Regions from separate parts of the Homo sapiens genome. Here region 1 is linked to region 2. Evidence: promoter capture Hi-C in 16 types of primary human blood cells and fetal thymus (Javierre and others, 2016). All regions are on one chromosome and are shown on one strand. The core of a region is centred on a gene start or on the middle of the fragment in contact, and the rest is flanking DNA. Distances in the headings are between cores, read along the strand shown. Region 1 overlaps PRMT3 (protein arginine methyltransferase 3). Region 2 holds the start of SNX19 (sorting nexin 19).

Region 1 (6,130 bases), core at 899-3,398, about 110 Mb before region 2:
ATAAAATATTTATTGAGCACCAGTGGTACCGTGGCTGTGATAGCCTCCATAAATAGTCGACATAACCTATCTCGGTAAACATTTGTGGAAAACTAATGCTCCACATGTGTTAGGAATATAGATAAGGTATACAGCTTCTCTGCTGTGTATTCCTGTCTTTAAGTAGCCTTCAGATTTGCATGTCACATAATAAAGAGGATTGATCCTCACAGTGTCTGTGATGCAAGTACGTTGGGAATACTACAAGATCACTTTTGAAATAAGGCACTTGGGGAGTATGCCAGCTGTAAAATTACATTTTATGCTTTATTTCTAAAAGCAGTTTGAGCTGTGCCAGTTCAAAGCCTCTGAAAGCAGAGTTGACACTTAGAGGAGAAAAGAATCTCAAGTAGAGAAATTGTATGACTTGAGAGAAACAGACTCTATCAAAGGGAACTCTCTTAAAAGCCTTTTGATAAAATCAGTGATATTATTTGACAAATAAATTCACTTTGACATTTAAAGGATAATTGGTTTTAGGTATAAAATGGGACTCAGAAGTACTAATTCCCTTTAAAAGTGCTGGATTCCCTTCCTTTCAGATACAAGTGTGTTTGTTTTTTCTTAATTGGAAGTAAAACTAGAAACCAGCAGAGTTAAAAAAAAAAAAAAAGTGTATATGTAACATGAAATCAGTATTTAGACTTCTTAGGGGACTATTCCATGAAGCTATTGCTTGATTTTTCAGGTTATTCACATCTGCTGAAGAAACATTTTCACACTGTAAGTCTGAGCATCAGTTTAATATTGACAGCATGGTTCATAAACATGGTGAGTAGTTTTTAGAATAAAGGCAATTTAATTTGTGAAATTTGGGCAGGCATGGCAGCTCACACCTGTAATCCCAGCACTTTGGGAGGCTGAGGTGGGTGGATCACTTTAGGTCGGGAGTTCAAGACCAGCCTGGCCAACATGCTGAAACCCCACCTGTACTAAAATACAAAAGTTATCTGGGTGTGGTGACGCACACCTGTAATAGCAGCTGCTCAGAAGACTGAGGCAGGTGAATTGCTTAAACCTGGGAGGCAGAGGTGGCAGTGAGCTGAGATGGTATCACTGCACTCCAGCCTGGGCAACAGAGTGAGACTCTTCTCAAAAAAAAAAAAAATCTGTGAAATATAAGTTCAGATTTTATAGTTTTTCAGACCCTTTTCTGTACGAGTTTAATATGGCGAATCACACAGCAACATCTTGTGGAAATGGAGTTTTTTTGACAAGCGGTCCTTGAGAAAAGATGAATAAGTCACTCTTCTAGACAAGATTCACTGTATTTAAGCTTATATTAGCTTTTCAACTAAAAACAAAAACAGACTTGGCATGTGATTACATTTTTACATTTTATGTGATTACATATTAGATTTAGGGAGAGCAAGTGTAGATGTAGGACTTGAAAAAGGACGCAGGTCATTTGAAAAAAGACAATCAGCTCAAAGCATGACATGAACTTCACAGCCTACGAGACTGAGTTTTATACAAAGTTCGGTAGAGACTGGAAAAAGAGTGATGAAGTTAAGATTAATATGCAAAATACTCAGGTGATGTTTCTATTGAAACTTTTATTTAAACACACTTGCCTTACAATTAAGGCCTTCCACTTTAAATGGATGTAGAAGAGCTATACTACAATAAAATTAACTAAATAGGCCAGGTGCTGTGGCTCACGCCTGTGATTCCAACACTTTGGGAGGCCAAGGCAGGTGGATCACAAGGTCAAGAGATTGAGACCATCCTGGCTAACCCAGTGAAAACCTTTGGGAGGCCAAGGCGGATGGATCACAAGGTCAGGAGATCGAGACCATCCTGGCTAACCCAGTGAAAACCCAACTCTACTAAAAATACAAAAAATTAGTCGGGCATGGTGGCATGTGCCTGTAGTCCCAGCTACTTGGGAGGCTGAGGCAGGAGAATTACTTGAACCCGGGAGGCGGAGGTTGCAGTGAGCTAAGATCATGCCACTGCACTACAGCCTGGGTGACAGACTGAGACGCCGTCTCAAAAAAAAAAAAATAATAGGTTTTTTGGTCCCTATATTTGTTGACAACTAAGAAGGGACATTACTGAAGAATAGCAAATACTAACAGGTGTTTCAGTGTCAGATAAATACGTGATATCACATGTTTATAAATCATAAATTCAACTGCAAGTACTTTCGTAAGGCATAAATGACAGCCTCATTTTTTAATGTTTTTTGTTTTTGTTTTTTTTTTGAGACGGAGTCTCGCTCTTGTTGCCCAGGCTGGAGTGCAATGGCACGATCTCGGCTCACTGCAACCTCCGCCTCCCGGGTTCAAGTGATTCTCCTGCCTCAGCCTCCCAAGTAGCTGGGATTATAGGCATGCGCCACCACACTGGCTAATTTTGTATTTTAGGAGAGACAGGGTTTCTCCATGTTGGTCAGGCTGGTCTGGAACTCCCGACCTCAGGTGATCCGCCTGCCTTGGCCTCCCAAAGTGCTGGGGTTACAGGCATGAGCCACTGTGCCCAGCCTTAATGTTTTTAATGTTGCATTTCTAAAGTATTAGAATCATACTTAAGATAGAATTTTGTTTTGTTTTTTTTTTACTTACCGATATAGGGGGTTTGTATACTATTAAAGTTTTCTCATAACAAGAGTTTTATGACAAATAATTGGTTGGTTGGATGTATTACTGCTTTCCTTTGTTTTAAATGCTGCTTCATTTCTGGAAAGATACGAGAACCAGATAACAAGCCTTATTGGGCTTGCATCATTTAACTTCATGTAAAAGCTAGTATACACCATGTCCTGGCAAAATTATAATTTGATACACACCATAAAAATTAGGGATTTAATACTTTCAGCTCTGATATCAGTTGCCAAATACTTGGTAAAATGTGGATCTTAATTTTCCAGATTTGTATTGTTCTGACAAAGGAGGAGTAGAATTTTAGAAATCAGTTTTCCATCTTTTTAGAAATACTAGAAAAGCTTTAATTTGTCATTTATGGCTGCTTCTCAAGATATTCAGAAGTATCATTGTATTACTACTTCTAATTCTTAATAAAATTCAAAATATAAGTAGTAATTTAGAGGTCAGAATTATTTTATTGTTTAATCAGAGAAGGCTTTATAGAATAGGTCAGTTAAACAAAACTCATTATGTTAACATAGGTGAATTATCTTTTTCCCCCTTTAGGACTTGAATTTTATGGATACATTAAGCTAATAAATTTTATTAGACTTAAGGTAAGTTGACAGCTTAATTTATAATTTCGTTTAGAAATCAAAGAAATGCTACAGTGACTGTCAGTGTACTGATTATTTAAAAGAATATGAGGAACTGCATTAAATTTGGTACTCATCATATTGGGGGAATCACGGACATTAGGAGGTAGCACAGCAGAAAGCACCATGTAAATGTCTACCATAACTAACAAATATTGTTTTCACTGCATCTAAGAGATGAATCGGTGTATGTGAAAAAGTAATTCAGTGTCAAATAAAGGGAAATACTGATGGACAGGATCTGTAAAATCAGAAATAATTTCTAATGTGATTTTAAGTATTTTGGTTGCTCTTTTTTATTCTGTTTTTTTTCAGATACTTTGTTTTTTTTTTTTTTTGTCCTGTTTAAATGAATGTTTAATGACATGACAACGCTTTCCCCAAATCCAAACAGTAAAAAAAACTCTGCGTTGAAACTGCTGGTTAAGCAGTCGTCCAGCAAGTTAATGAAATGACAGGCACGTAGACTTTTTGGAGACATACTGACTTTGTGTAATGCAAACATGATTTCCTTTTTGTTTAATTTCTGTAGTTTTTACTAAGGGGATTTTGTGATTATATGTAATGAAAAAAACATGAGATTAATTTTATATCCAGAATCCTACAGTTGAGTACATGAATTCCATATACAACCCAGTGCCTTGGGAGAAAGAAGAGTATTTGAAGCCAGTATTAGAAGATGACCTTTTACTTCAATTTGGTAAGATGAACATAAGTGTATCTCCTTTAATTAACATAAGGCCGTTTGTTAACGGCAAAATGGAGGTAGAGTGTTTTAGGAAAAGACATGCTTTTTAAAATTATCTAAATGCTTCATCAGGTAGTTAGTTTCAGTAGAAAAGTTAAGTTGCTTAAAAACTAATAGTCGGCCAGGTGTGGCGGCTCACGCCTGTAATCCCAACACTTTGGGAGGCTAAAAGGGCAGATCACGAGGTCAGGAGATCCAGACCATCATGGCTAACACAGTGAAACCCCATCTCTACTAAAAATACAAAAAATTAGCCGGGCATGGTGGCGGGCTTCTGTAGTCCCATCTACTCGGGAGGTTGAGGCAGGAGAATCACTTGAACCTGGTATACAGGTGACAGAGCAAGACTCTGTCTAAAAAAACTAAAAACTCTGTGATCAAAAGATTGTCTGGTTTTGCCTTTAATTGCTTCATGTATTTTGGAGCTCTTATGTGAGGTTTATACACATTTATAATTGTTATATTTTACTGAAAAATTGGTCAGCCTTTGCAGTAATTCTTCTCTGCCCGAAAGAAGTATCCAGGTGATTTGAACATCCTGAGACAGAAGGTAGATGTAGATGTTCATCTTTCTGAATATGGTTTAGGCCTTTGAATTAGACTGTTCTAGCAAATTGTAGTTAGGAATCTTAATATTTACTGAATCCTCTTTTTTTCAAATCTCTAAGTTTAATCTTTAATATATAATTATCTGCATATTCTTAACATTAAAAAGTTTTTATTATGACTAATTTTTATTGCAGCAGAAAGCAAAACAGAAACTGGCCAAACAGTTTGAAGAATTTTGAAATCAAAATACAAAATGAGGTTTGTAGTAGGAAGTAGAAAATACAGTATACCAGCCTTATATAGTTTGGAAATATTTTGTTGTGCTGATTAATTTTTGGTGAATTAGATAGTGAATGATGCAGTTTTTAAACCTCAGTGACTCAATATTCTGCCACAGTGATGAGAAGTTAGTGACACCCTGCACTGCTTTTATAACAAGAATTCAACTTAGGCTGTAGTCTCTTATAGTATAATGCATTCGTTTGGCTTAGCTATTTTGTCCTAATTCCAAGGACGTGTCTTCACAACTAAAAAATGAATAGGAATTTTTACGAAGTCACATTTCTTCCAGTGCTATCCTGAGGGGAAAATGTAATATTTGCACTGCTCACTGCCTTAAGTTGATCCGAAAGTTAGATCAGTAAATGGACACTGATTTTGTGAAATTCACTAACTACATATATTAACTTCTCTTTGTAGAGAAGTGAAATTAAAATTAAATACTAGGAATTAGGATATTTAATAATATCAGCAATAAGACTTTAGTGTATAGATTTCACTCCACCTTGCCCAGGATGAAAAATTATTGAATGTGTAGAATTCTTTACACGCTGTCCTTAGGAATGTTTTTTTTTTCCTCCAGTTTTATTCAGGTATAATTGATAAGTGAAAATTGTGTACATTTCAGGTATACAATGTGATGATTTGATATGCATATACATTGTGAAATGATTACCATAACCAAGCTGATTAACATCATCACCTCACATTCCATTTTTTTATTTTTGTGGTGAGAACAGTTAAGATCTATTGTCTGCAAATTTCAAGTATACAGTGCAGCATTTTTAACTATAGTCACTTTACAATAGACAGATGCCCAGAACTTACTCATCTTGTAGCTGAAAGTGTGTACCCTTTGACCAACATCTCCTCATTTCCACCACCATTCCACTCTCTGCTGCTGTGAGTTTTTTTTTAATTCCACACAAGAGTGAGATCACACAGTATTTGTCTGTTTGTGTCTGGCTTATTTTGCTTCACATAATGTCCTCCATGTTCATTCATATTTTCATATATGGCAGGATTTCCCTTAAGCAATATCTGAATTTAATACCTGCTACAATAAGGACATGGGCTAGGAGGTGGCTTTGTGTAATGGGAAGAACGTGGGCTGGGAAGGCAGGTTTGGGTTTAAATCTTAGTTCCTCCATAAACAGATATATAACTTTAGGATAGTCACTTAATTTCTCTGAAATTTATTTTTTCCTTGCCTAAAATAGGGATAAATACATCTTAACTGTGTTTTGAGAATAAAACAAGATGTAATGATG
Region 2 (6,795 bases), core at 3,030-5,529:
CCAAACAGCAGATATAAATCATTTGTTTATCTGGAATAAATTAAAGGGTATTTGTTTTGTTTCACGCAGATTAATTTTCCTAATTGTTATTCTTAGAGCTAAACTGAATTTTTCCTAAGTACGTATCATCTGTATCACAGAAGTCACATGAAAATTGGAGATGTGATAAGGGGTCAAAGTCCACTGTCTTCCTAAGCTTAGAGGGCTGGTATGTGGAAAAGACGACTTATATCTCATGTTCCCCAAAGAGTGAATACCACGGATGGCATGGAATCTGCAACTCAGCATGGGGGCACACTTCTTGACAGGGTAGTTAAGACACAATGAAACGCTGTGGGAGAAGTATATATGTGCGCCTTCTCATTAGGAATGGGCTATTATTTTTCGGTTGAGGTATACTGTGGGCAAGAGGTGGAAAAAACTACCTCCTCGTTGGTGGGAGTTGTGGCTGGTGCTTTACAATTTTCTGGAGACAGGGTATTCATTATGAGCTGATGTGAGCAAAGCAGTCCCTCAGAACAGCACTGAGAAGGAAAGACCAAGTAAGAGCAACAGGTGGCATTCAGGGTGGGGCTCTCAAGCCTGGAGCATTTGGAACTATGAGGCTTTCTGTGGAATATGCTGCTCCTCGAGGGCCAATTTTCAACACCGTTATGGTTACTTCCATCACATAAACCGAAAACTATTTACTATCAGAAAGTATAATAATATTGATATACAATTTAAAATCAGTTATATGTCCATATAAAAATCTAAACCCAATTTCAAACTACTCATAATTGGCTATATTATTTCGTTCTCATTTTTTACTTTACTCTTTTCTAATGCTTAATTGAAGCAGTAGCAGATGTCAAAATCTAGCCAACAACAAAAAAGAACAAATAATGGGAGAAAGACTGGGAACTTAAACATTCTATCCATCAACTTAATTTTTCTGCTAATGAGGAGGGAAAAAACCTGCTGTTTTATGTCAGTATTGGAATAGTCATTAAAAAAAGATGAAATAACCAGAAGCCAACACTTAAATGTGAGAAAGGTGCATGGCATAGGGGCATCCAGAATTAGAACAAAAAGGCAGGAAAATGTTAACAAAGTTATACCAGTCCTTTGAGGCTAGTCTCAGTTATTTTATGACCAGACATCTGTACTTCTACAATTTGCCTATAATGAGTGTGTGTCTGTGTGTTCACCCATATGCATTTCTAATTACTTCCATTCCGTCTTACTTGAAAATGTCATAATGTTACTTTCTAAAATGCTATGTCATGATGCAGCTGTGTTGAGCAGATCAAGGAAGGTCTTTTCCCTCTTAGTTGGATTGGGAGTTCGGAGGAGTGTAGCAAGCAGGCTGTCCCTGGTGGTAGCTTGTGGACTCAAATGAGAGAAATTCAAGTGTGGAAGGCAAGTAAAATCCAATGGGTAGGATCTTGTCCAAGAATTTTCTTTCTCAACTTCTTCCCTGCTGATTTCTTTTTCAAAATACTGGTACATTTTGTACTTTGTTTTAGGAAGGTAGGTTATTTACCTATGTCTATCTCAGAAGATAGCAAGTTTTTGACTCTTGGAGGTGTGTAAGCAGACTTGGGAACAACTTGACAAGAGATAACATGAAGAGGGTTGGTTGGATTAGAGAGGCAATTCCCCAAGATGGCCTTAGGACAGGCTGACTCTATGTTATCTGGAGAGTTCTATTTGAAAATAAATAAAATACAGAATCCAGGGACCCCCTCCTTAGAAATTCTCATACAGAATCCAACAGAGTCTGTCAGAATCTGTATATCTGAAAGGCAGCTCAAGTGATTTTGAGGTGCAGCCAAGTTTGGGAACCACTGAAAATATAACCCTCAGCATTCTAGCAGCCCTGAGGTTCCAGGATTGCTTGTGTGAGTACAGGATAAACGCTACTCTGCCTTACATATTAGCTTCAGACCATTCACAGAGATAGATGCCTATTGAAAGAACCACTTCAAACTAACAGCATCTCTCCCCCAAGAACATTTGCTTCATGACTGCTTTCCAAACCCACTCCTAGCCCGGGTGAGCACCCACAGCTTTAATCCTGTTACCTTCACAGTATAGAGTGTGTATGGGTGGAATCCAGTGCCACTGTGCTCTCGGGCTGTAATGGTGCCAGTGATACGAAGGTTCTGGATGATAACTGGACCATCGGGACTGCTTAGGGGCTCAAAGCTGAAGGTGGCTGAGCTGAGAGGACCAGGTGGAGAGGAGGAAAGCAGAACTGGTGGCAGAGTAGGATCAAGGGAGCTCACATCATTGGTGAGATCCTTCTCTAAGCATGACGGCCGTGAGGGGCAGGTCTTTTCTGGCCCCTCCAGCAAAGCTGTAACAGAGGCGGTAACATCTCCTTGTTCTATCTCCTTGTCTGCTGTGTCAATATGGATCTCTGGGCAGGAATTCAGTGTGGAGACCGGCAGGCCTGTCTCTGTTTCTGTCCCTGGACCCTCCTCAGCCTCTGCTCCTTCAGATGCCTCACCATCTTTGGGTTCCAGAGCCTGGGAACTCTCTAGGGCACACAGGGCATCCTGAATCCTGTCAGAGAGAAAGCTGCCTGGAGTCATGAGCATGATGGTTTCTTTGCCCAGTTCAGACAGCGGAGACTCCAGCTCTGAGTCTTCACATAAGAACAGGGGACCTCGAACATTTGGCTGTAGGAAATGAGATGAGTTGTTTCCTACTTTTCTTTCTTCACACATCCCACCCAAATCTCCCTCTACAGCTTCGTGGCCTTCTTCAACCTCTGGAGAGGGGCCTGCAGAACCCTCTGGCTCACTGTAACTTAGGAATACTGGGGCTGCTACTGGAGAAGCTCTCCCTTCTGGAAGCTGCTCTACCTCAGCAATCAGTGGCAGAGATGTCGGCACTGAGGGCTGTTCGGGGGCACTGGCTGGGCAGGGTGCTGGATCTCTGGCCTTGGAAAAGATACCCACGAGTACAAGGTGGATCCAGTCAGGATCTGACAGCCTGCTGATCAGTGGTAAGATTACATTGCATGTGATGAGTTCGACCACTACATGGCGTCCGGTACGAGTCTCCAAGTGGGGCTTGGGCACCAGCCCTTGAAGCAACAAATTCACAACGCCACGCGTATAGGTGACTTCAGCACTGGGGCTGTGCACAGCAGGATGTGGGGCAGTCGCCCGGCAGTAAGCCTCCCAGAGGTGGGAAGGCTCAACTGGACCATTCTTCCCTGCAGTGGCCTCCTTTGCCTGAATGTAGCTCTGCAGGTGACAACCGCAGAGAGTCAGAACACTCTGGGCAACAGCATGACTGTCCATCACGCTCATCCTTCTCCGAAGCTCCTGGACCAACCCTTTCATGGCTGCCTCCATTTCTTCCTCAAAGGCTGGCTCCTGGCTCACGGAACGGTACCAAGATAACACAAAATCTCGAATAATCATCTGGATGGTGCGGTTGATCTCCCGTTCCAGCTGCCTTTCTGCCTCAGGGCATGGAGGACAGGTGGCCAACGGGATGAAGCGTTCCAGATGCAGTCGACCTGAAGCCACTCCAGCGAGGCTGGAGCCCAGCCATCCTCCCAGCACCACTAGCAATGCCGACAGAAGGCACAGCAGCCACACGTTGACCAGAAGGTGTATGACCAGGAGCCAGCCAAGCAAGACCCCCACAGCCATCAGCTTCCGGCTACTCAACAGGTTATTGAGGTGACAGCTCGATCCAGCTGGAGTTTCCTGGAACGGTGGCACTGTTTCTGTCTTCATGGCTGAACGGACAAGGTGGCTTCCCCAGATGACAGCCCTCAAGATTTTACTTCAGAGTTAGGGAAGGGGGGCATGAACTGTGTCTCAGATATGGGGCGATCTGGGTGCTGTTCAGGGAACCGGGGCTCCAGGCCCTCAAAGTCCTACAGGCACTGCAAAGCGACAGCTGCAGCTCCGCGTCTCCCCATGGCTACCACTAACAGAGCCCTCCAACTCGCCCCTTCCAGCTGAGGTGTGGCTTTGGAGGAAAACTCTGTGGCCTTCACACTGCCCCAGGCGGAAGGCCTCTTCGGGGCCTCGGGGCGGGCGCTGCAAGGCCCTGGGGCCCACGGACACTTACACACGCAGCGGGCAGCGGCCGGCGAAGACTGGGTCACACGCCGCCGGGAACCGCGCGCCCACACTCAGCCCCGACCTGAAGTGGACTCATCGCGGTCCTCTCCGGGAGCCTCGGCCCTCTGCCGCCGTAAACCTGGGCGACTGCGCTCCGCAGCCGGGCCTGTGTGAAGGCTGACCGCCGGCCGGCCGCCGGCGACAGCTTCCGGGTCGACGTCGACGGGAGCGAGGCATGCTGGGAGAGCGTCCGCGCGCGCCCCGAGGAGCGGCGCTGCCCGGCGCCCTCTGCTGGCGAGGAGCCGCCCTGACGGCCCTGCGCGAGGTAGTCTCTGAGCCTGAGCGTGAGCCTGAGCGCGCACGGGGCGCGTGCTCGCCAAGAGCTGGCGCAGATTTCCGAAGTGCCACGAAACAGCCGCCGCAGCAATCACCGCTAAGACCCAGACTTCCAGGCGCTTTAAAACGCGTCCTAGTTCTGGTTATTAAATGAAGCCTGTCCTTTACTGCTTAGGCACGCTGTCAATAATCCGGTTTATTTTAATTTCATGGAGGCGAAGTTTCATTGGCCTGATGTGTCTTAACATTTATCCGGTTTCCCCTAGAGCCGGTACCCCGCGTCCCCAGCACAAAGACCCTCATTTGTTGTCAGGAATTGCAGAATATAAGGCATGAAACGATACAGAGATAGATTTATGTTGTACATTTCATATACTGTATCACAAAATCAAATTTGTGATTGAGGGTTATTTGCTGGTGGCATTACACAAACAATCAAATATTTTGAGCATCTGCTGTCTTCAATGTGAGAGGCAGCGTGGACGAATAGAAGCAGACCTTGTCCTCCAGGACCTCCTGCTAACTGGGGATGCCAGCGCTTTGAACGCGATTGGCTATCTAGTAATGCCAGTCAGCGTGCGATATAGTAAAATACAAAATCTTATAGGAATTCAGGGGAAGGAGAGATCACTGTGGGTTGCAATGGTTAAGGAGAAGCTCACAGAAAAGGTGCCTTTCTGCTGAGTCTTCAAGGATGAGGGTTTCTATTTCCCTCTATCTCTTCTCGCCTTATCCTCCCCAAAAACATAGAAAAGGAAAGCAGAGATAGAGGTGTCCTTTCAGATAATCCTGTAATATATTTGCTTTGGAATATGCTCTATGTTGGATTGTTTTTGGTTTTAGCAAATTAGACTTCACTTGTCTACACAGGAACCTATAGGAAGACAAAATACCGGAAGCACTGACCAGGTGTCAAAAGTGTTAGTGTCAGTTTTGCGTGAAGCCAGCTTCCATGTCCACCTTGGGCCCTAGGAGCTGTGCCCGCAGGGTGGGTCTCCTTTCCATTTAGGCATAGGATTCGCATCGTTTGCACAGAGCTGCTCATGGTTGCCCTTCGTCCACCTTCTCTGTGCTGTGAGCAGTCTTTCATCATCATGGACTACTCCCTAGATGTTTAAAGGAATCTTCAAACAAATCCCAACCCAAAACTCTGCCAACAAGAAGTGCGTTGCAGCTTCCTGTCTCGTCCATTGCTGCTGTTGGGGCAGAGACTTCCTTTGAATACGAAAGAAGCCATCATTTAGATGTGACCCGTAGTTTACGATTCATCACTTCTAAAGCAAATGGTTTGATTTAGGATCAGTGTCCACTAAGCAGACTGGGCACTCCCGTGAGATGGCAGAATGTGAATCCACGGTTTCACGGTCCATACCTTTTCACTGCTGCCTGCCTTCCCGCAGAAAAGGAACCCGAGAAGTGGGCTCTGCCCCTCTACCTTCCCAGACCATTCTAATGTCCTCAGGAGCACTTAGAAAATGGCAACAATGCTCTGGAGAAAAGTCCCTGCCACCTAGTTGGGAGCTAAAACAGAAATGTGAATGATGAAGGGACTACCGACGGTGCTGAAGACTTCCTGTGGCAGTTCAAAGAGAAAGTTTACTTGGCAGCATAATCTGGAGTGTTCAGGGCAGTAAGGAAGTGACCTTGCAAGTGGGCGCTATGCCACCTGACCAGATGGTCTGGAGCATCAAGGTAGCCAAGAGTGCCTTCCTGATTCTGAAGCGGGTTTGATGGACATGCCCGTGCACTTGTCATTTGGACGGGTGTGAGCTCCTGCCTGGGGGTCTGGGCAGACCCTGGTCTCCAAACAGATTAATCACTGGGAGGAGGTGAGAGTCAGGACTGATGTGCCCTGGTGTGTGTATGTGGGGTGGGGAGACTTGGCCACACCACTCACCATCTGGAGACGTCCTTCCTTCTTTCCTTTTCCCTATTTCTCAAAACATTAAAGGCATAGTGCTAGAGTGTTGGAGAAAACAAGACAAATAAGATACAATAATTCTCCTCAAGGGACTCTCAGTCTAGTTAAAGGAGAGACACATAAATATATAAACGTAATGAAACATGATCACGTGTGTAATGTGATGTGTTCTGATGTGTTGTAATAGAAGTGCATACAATAAAATCGAAACACAAAGCGGGTGGTCAGCTGTGGAGGGGGGTGGCTCATAGACAGTTTTCCCTTAAGTTGGGAAATGAAAAAGAATTGAGTGTATTTTAGGAAATGTTGGGTAGCGAGAGCAAGGGGCAAACAGAAGGAAGGTCTTTCAGGCAGAGGCCTGCTCATAAGAAACAGGCAGAGACCATGAGAGCAGGGGGGCCCGTGACATAGGCCCTGCCAGAGCCAGCCCGCACCCCACTTGAATTTTCTCTCAAAATAGAAGAC

Evidence for each region. Contacts are between HindIII fragments. The CHiCAGO score rates a contact against its expected background, and 5 or more counts as called.
Region 1: a fragment that was not itself captured here is called in contact with the fragment with the promoter of SNX19 in region 2 in 3 of 17 cell types (total B cells, non-activated CD4 T cells and total CD4 T cells); the score reaches 11.7 in total B cells.

What each region holds. Positions count from the first base shown.
Region 1 is chr11:20,389,017-20,395,146 of GRCh38, forward strand. PRMT3 (protein arginine methyltransferase 3) reads left to right here. Exons shown (of 16, transcript NM_005788.4): 3 at 728-810; 4 at 3,195-3,244; 5 at 3,881-3,983. Among named protein-coding and RNA genes, the nearest start is that of PRMT3, 4.4 kb to the left of the region's middle. The HindIII fragment of the contact is 1,671 bases long and covers 1,314-2,984 here.
Region 2 is chr11:130,912,200-130,918,994 of GRCh38, forward strand. It overlaps SNX19 (sorting nexin 19), which reads right to left and starts at 4,280. Exons shown (of 11, transcript NM_014758.3): 1 at 2,067-4,280. The coding sequence starts at 3,740. RefSeq lists an enhancer at 4,023-4,072 and a silencer at 4,193-4,472. The HindIII fragment of the contact is 12,734 bases long and covers 195-6,795 here.